Linked DNA regions of Homo sapiens: region 1 is linked to region 2. Evidence: promoter capture Hi-C in human tissues and cell types (Jung and others, 2019). All regions are on one chromosome and are shown on one strand. The core of a region is centred on a gene start or on the middle of the fragment in contact, and the rest is flanking DNA. Distances in the headings are between cores, read along the strand shown.

Evidence for each region. Contacts are between HindIII fragments. The study calls those that stand out against the background at their distance.
Region 1: a contact is called between a fragment that was not itself captured here and the fragment with the promoter of TMEM158 in region 2, in 3 of the 25 tissues and cell types used here (H1 embryonic stem cells, hippocampus and lymphoblastoid cells).

Annotation. Positions count from the first base shown.
Region 1 is chr3:45,543,459-45,546,527 of GRCh38, forward strand. All of the region lies in intron 21 of LARS2 (leucyl-tRNA synthetase 2, mitochondrial), which reads left to right. Among named protein-coding and RNA genes, the nearest start is that of LARS2-AS1, 35 kb to the left of the region's middle. RefSeq lists silencers at 523-749, 1,542-1,752 and an enhancer at 2,139-2,433. The HindIII fragment of the contact is 7,069 bases long and covers 1-3,069 here.
Region 2 is chr3:45,224,838-45,228,319 of GRCh38, forward strand. It overlaps TMEM158 (transmembrane protein 158), which reads right to left and starts at 1,450. Exons shown (of 1, transcript NM_015444.3): 1 at 1-1,450. The coding sequence starts at 1,190. The coding sequence ends at 288. RefSeq lists silencers at 1,277-1,346, 1,357-1,696. The HindIII fragment of the contact is 8,880 bases long and covers 1-3,482 here.

The DNA of each region.
Region 1 (3,069 bases), core at 245-2,744, 320 kb after region 2:
TTTTATTTTTTTATTTTTTTTTTTGGTGAGACAGAGTCTCTCTCACTCTGTTGTCCAGGCTGGAGTGCAGTGGCACAATCTTGGCTCACTACAACCTCCACTTACAGCAATTCTCCTGCCTCAGCCTCCCAAGTAGCTGAGATTACAGGCATGTGCTACCATGCCCAGCTAATTTTTGTATTTTTAGTAGAGATGGAGTTTCACCATGTTGGCCAGGCTGGTTTCAAACTCCTGACCTCAAGTGATCTGCCCACCTCAGCCTCCCAAAGTGCTGGGATTACAGGCAGGAGCCACCGCACCCAGCCCCAGCCCAGAAATTTATTTAATTTGAGTAATGTTTATGAGAAATAAATAGCTCATGCATCCCTGAGAACTTGTCCTCAGCCCGGTTGAGAAATGCTAACTTAAGAAAAAGAGAGGGCTTTAGTCTATGAAAATATCTATCTTAAATTACCACTGCAGAAAAGAAATTGAGTTTTGATCGTTGGTAAAAATAATTTTAGATAATCATTGAAATGCAAACCTAAAATGAAAAGCATGTGTAAGACTCCCTGCAGGTACACCCAGCTTGAGAACCCAGGCTGGGTCAGCACCGTGCCAGCAGCAAGGACTTCTGTGAAGGCCTGGGTTCTCGCTCCATGTGATCTCACTTTGTGTCCTGGCCAGAAACAGGCTGCAAGCGCAGTTCGATGTCATTCAGTTCAATTGTGCCCATGTTCTTTGTGCCTGTGACATGCTGGGCTCTGCCCACACCAGGGATACAGAGACAAGAGCTACCGCCTTGTCACCTTGGAACAAAGGTCTGGGGGCACATGAGCTGTCACACACAGTTTATGTAAGGGCTCGGAAGTCAGGCCATCCTGGGTATAAGTCTCAGTTTTACAACATATTTAACACCTCTAAGCCTCAGTTTCCTGAGTTATAAAATGGAGGCACACACAGTGCCTGCCTTATCCGGCTATTGAGAGAATTAGGTAGGATAATGCCAGGAAGTGCTTAGCCTGCTTCTGGATGCACTAATGACAAAATCCTCTTAATACAGAGTGAGCGCCGACCCAGGGCCACGCTCTGCCCTAGAACTTCCCAGGTGTGAGCTTATTTACTAAGCACAGTGGCCCTGTGAGGCAGGCTTGTTGTTATCCCCATTCACAGACAGGCAGATGTGTGACTAACCCTATCTTACAGGCAAGGAAATGGTGGCAGGATGGAGCTAAATAACTCACTGAAGGTCACACAGCTAGTCCAGAATCTACTCTGAATGGTGACTGCTGCTAGCATCAGCGTTGCCACTTCTGGCAGTTGGAGAATCAGAAAATACGTTATGAGGAAAAGGACAGGCAGCTTTGGCTTTGAAAGAGGAGCAGCCTCTCCCCAGTGGAGAGAAGGGTGTCGCAATACCAGGAACAAACATAGGGGGGCAGGCCCACAGAGACCCGGGCTGAGCCAGGGAGGTACTGGAGCAGAGGGCATAGGGCAGTGCTGGAGACAAAGCTAAAGGTAGGGAGTGTCCCCTCCTCAGAGGCCAGACACCCCTCAGAGGACAGGGGGCTACCAGGGTGTGTGAGCAGGAGAGAGAGGGGCTGTGTCAGGTCATCCCGTCTCTTCCACTGCCTGGGGTGGAGCCTAGGTGGACAAGTGACTTCACTTCATGTGCCTCAGCTTCCCTATCTGTAAAATGGGATGGGATATTCATGCATCGACTCACAGGTTCATACAAGTGAATTGCATAGTTCAATGCTTGGCACAGAGTGAGAGCTCAGCAAATGGAAGCTTGTACTGTTATTAGCCATCGCAAGGCTACCCTCATGATGGGGACAGGTGATGGATTCGAGTGGGAGGAACACCTGTGGCCTGGGCCCTGTCCGGCAGGTGTCAGAAAAGTCCAGGAGAGTCATGCTTAGGCCTTCTCCAAAGATGGAGGTGCAAGAGCCCCACAGCATAGCAGCCTCTTTTTGAAGTGATGTCAATGTGCTTCTTCCTCTTTGGGCCCTTGAAGCTCAGGCTCAGTGTTGAGTCCCAACCTGACTTCTCTGCCCATCTCATTGGCGCTTTATGCCAGAGACAGGGGGAGCATGATTGGCACCTACTCACCCTGAAGGGACTGCCTTGGTAAGGCAACTCAGGGGAGGCCTGGGGAGCCAGAACCGTGTGAGGGTGCCCGAGGCAGCAAGGGAAAGACTCAGAGCACGATGGCCACATTCAGAGATCACATGCCCTGCCCCCAAAGCCCCAGCTGTGGACAAGAATGACTCAGGTCCCTTGGACAGGCTGTCACCAGTGATGACTTAGGACCAGCCTGCCCGGCTCCAGCAAAGCACAGGAAGCTCGAAGGTTTAGAAATGGGTCATTGTTGTGCTGAGGCCATGCGTCAAAGAGGACATCCCACAGCCAGCTCCTATCCTGGCCAGCACTCTTGACAAAGGCAGAGGGAGTGCAGCTTAGTGAGCTGGTCCCTTTACACAGGTTATTCACTCCAGAATCTGGAGAATTCTGTCCTTAAGGAAAAAAAAAAAAAAAACTAAGCTCAAGATCCCACAGCTTGTAAGACCAGGCCTAAGAGTCAAACCTGAATCTCCCCACATGAGAGCACCATGCTCCCCCTCACCCAGCACCCCCTCTGTAGGTGGTGGCCCAGAGGAGATGTTGCCCTGGGCTGCTCTTCCATAGGAGGAAAGACATGATTCACTAATAACTGCATGTCCTGAGAATTCCCTGTTGGGGACCCCAGGACTTCACTAGGGGCATGGCTCTTGGGTGACAGTTGGGAGGTCTCTTCCAGGGTCTCAGTCCAGCCAAGCATGTGGCCTTGCAAGAAGGCAGCTTCTAATGGCTCAGAAACACCAGGGCAGGGGGGCCACAGTCCTTCACACCACACACTTAGTTCCCCAGCTTCAGAACGCTTTAAAACGCTGCAGCATGGAGCCTCACGCTTTCAAAACAGTATTTCATAATATGCCAGGACTTTGTGTTTTATTCGTCCTCTCCCTGTGACCTAGGCTAATGCAGACAATAAAAATGCCACCAAGTTCTGCAAAACTGAAAAAATGAAGTGGGTGATTAGGGGACATT
Region 2 (3,482 bases), core at 200-2,699:
AGGAGTCGGGCAGGGGGATGCAATAGAGGGGAAAGGGCCCCATTTCCCTCCTCTCCGTCTTCGGAGCTGCGATCCCACCCTCAGTCCAAGGGCTTAAACATCTGCTTTTCGGAACTGGAAGCGCAGCACAAACCTTGCTTTTCAAAGGCGCTGGGGTCTCTCGGCGGCCCCATCTCGGGAAGAGGAACTAACGATAACTACAGCACGAAGCACACCGGCCGAGTCTCCGGCGGGAAAGGCACCCGCGCGCGCGGACACAGGACGGACACAGGGAGGAGCGGAGCGGGTCACTTGGTCGCCACCCCCGAAGTGACGGCCGCGGCGGCGGCGGCAGCGGCGGCGGCGGCGGCGGCTGCGGTGGTCCCTGCGGGCACTGCGGCGGGGGTGGCTGCGGTGGTGCTGGCGGTGGTCCGGCGCTGTTCCATGCCGTTGGGCAGGAAGCCGGCGATGATGGGCACCGGCCAGATGAGGGCGGCCACGCTCCACACCACGATGACCAGGGTCATGAAGCAGGCCACCAGCGTGGACTCAATGGGCTTACGGTTCAGCCGCCAGCCCGGCTCGCCCTGCAGCTCCTCCAGGCTGAAGTCTAGGCAGCAGAAATGCAGCGGCTCGCCCTGCAGCCACAGCGGCCCGGGCGGCTCGGCCGCGGGGTAGGCTGGCAGCGCGGTGGGCGCCCCGGCGGTGGCGGCGGCGGCGCTGGGGGCGGCGGCGGGCCGGAGGCGGCCGGTGCGGCGACCGCGCACCCAGCCGCAGCCCACGCAGAGGCGCAGGTCCTGCTGCGCGCCGCCCGCCGCCAGCCCCAGGTGCTCGATGAGCAGCGGCGGCCCGACGCGGTGGAAGGCGGCGGCGAAGAAAGCGCGGCCGTGCGCGTTGGTGGAGAAGAGCAGTAGGTCGCACTGGAAGCCCCGCGGGCGGCCCCAGCGCACGAGCAGCGAGCTCAGCATCTGCCGCTGCACGCTGATGTTGCACGGCGCCGCCGCCGCCGCCGCCTCCTCCGGGCCCGGGCGCTCGGGGGGCCCGGGGGCCGCCGAGGCCAGCAGCCGCGGGGCGATGGGCTCGTCCGCGGAGGACGCGTTGACTGAAGCATTGGAGGGCACCCCGAGGAGGCCGGGCGCGTCCGCGGCCCCGCCGCGGACGGGCGGCAGCGGGCAGGCGGCGGCCAGGAGCGCGGCGAGCAGGGGCAGCATGGCCTGCGGCGGGCGCCTACGCGCGCGAGGCCGGCGGCGGTTGCATGGCGAGCGGGCGACGGGCCGGCGAGCTCACGGTGGGACCGCGGGAGCCGGCGGCCGGGCGCAGTGCGGGCGCGCCGGGCGCCTGCCAAGCCCGCAGGGGCGGCGCGGAGGCGGTGACGGCGGCTGGCTCGGCGCGGGGATCCCTCCAGACCCGGTTGCGTTTGGGGTTCCCCGCCGCCCCCGGCGCCGGGGCCCTTGGGCTGCCGCGCTGCTCTGCGGGGCCGGGTGCTATCCCAGAGCAGGATTCCCCGGCTCGGCTCCGCCTCCCGCGTGCCCCGCCCCGCCCCGCCCTCCGCTCGCCAGGCTCGGGGACTCAGGGGAGGGCGGGGTTCCACGCGCCGGGGCTGGGAGAGGAATCGCCGGGGCGGGGCTGGGTGCGGGGGCGCGGCGGAGAGCGGATCGCCCGGGGTGCGTGCGGGCGGGCGGGGAAGCCTGCGGACGCGCCCGGGCGCCCCCGCGCTCCGGGTGAATCGCGTTCTCAGAGGGAGGCTCCAGGGCCCGGAGACCATCCTTTTGTCAGGCCTGAGGGGAGCTTCGCTGTCTCGCCTTAGTGCTACCGAACCTCCTTTGTTTTACAGAAGGGGAAACTGAGGTCGAGAGAGGGGAAAGGGCCTCGCTAGGCCAACTCATGAGCCAGAAACAAGTCCGCGCCACTAGCTCTTTCTGCCTTTTTACGGTGTCTCTTACCTCAAATCTGTAGAGTTTGGCTGCTTTTTAATGGCTCCAACACAGCAGACTCACTTGGGATTCTCCTCGCAGCAAGCGAGGAAAATTCCAAGAACTCTGTGGAGTTTCGAGTGGAGAGTGACTGGCTGGGGGGAATGTGAGCCCTGAAGCTGTGCCGCCTGGGGGTCCCGAGGACACAGGTCCTGACAGGTCGAGTGAGCGCGTGTTCATGAAACAGTTGTAGGTTAGAACCCACGTCAAAGGGGCAGTTCATCCCCTTTGGGATATTATACGGGAGGAGGGCTACCAAGAATAACGTGTCAAGAGATCAGATTTATCACATTTATATTGAAAAGCACTTTCTTAGTAGTTCGGCCCCTCACACTTGGAAACAAACTTCAACGACCCTTCATCATTCCCATCGTTCTTTAGGGGACATTTATGTTGAATTATTATCTATTTTATTTTAGTTGGAAGCCCTTGTACTCCATGAGCACCAAGTATTCCTGATTCGGAGAGGGGAGGGGTGGAGGGAGCAGAGAAAGGCCTCAACAAAACCGCCTTCCTTCTAAACCAGCTAATCCTGAGAGGTCTGCCAAGAGTCCAGCTACATTGCTAGGCATCCTGGCTGATTACTTTTCTGGAAGCTTTTGTCCATTGTTTTCTAACAATGAGTAAAATGGGACTGAGAAAGTTGCAAAAACGCCTCAAAATAAAGCTCCCCAACTTATTCCACCTCTTGCCATCTAAGCAAGCCATTATTCTGACTTAGCCTTGGTTTCCCCATCTGAGTTGGGGGGTGGGTGGTACCTCCTCACAGGGCTGCTGTGATAATACTCCCAACCCAGTGTCTATCTGTCCCCAGATGTTCCCACATGGTGGTTGCTGTGATGTGGTTACTAACAGTGCTGCCCAAGTTGGCTGCCTAGAGTGGTCCTTGGTTTCTACAGAAATGGTTCATTTCCCCAAGGGGATGGGACTCCCTTTTCGTTTCAGCCTCCATCACTTTTGTGCTTGGAAGTGGTGCTACCAGGGAGAACAATGTGAATTTTCCTGCTTTTAATAAAAATGACTTCTCCTTTCAACCTTTGCATATCAGGAACAGAAGCTGCTCAGTGATGTGGCAGAACAGTTTTAATTTAAGCCATGTGTCTGGTGAACCCTGAAGAACAGGAATATCAAGTGATCCTGAGGGCTGAGGGAGGCCTAATCTTCAAGGGGTGCGTTTTGAGCCAGGCTGTTGCCTGTGACTGCAGATGACATTCTCTGGGGTTTCAGTCAGAGGCAGAGGCTTCCTGAGCTTTCCTGAGACACTCCTGGCTTTGTCTGTGCAGGGGGGAAGGCAGCAGCAAAGGGAAAAGACAAGAGATCTATTTGGGGAGCCAAGCAGTTCCCTGCAAAGTTGCGCCACTGAAGCTCTGCATCCTAGCAACCTGCATTCTGCCCACTTTTCCAGCAGGTGCCGTCCTGAGGACTCCGTCACCTCGCCCTCATTCAGAATGTAATTACCCTTCAAATAGTAACACAGATCCTACTTTCTAGATTGATTTGCTATCTTTTTGGAATTTGAGAACAGAAGAT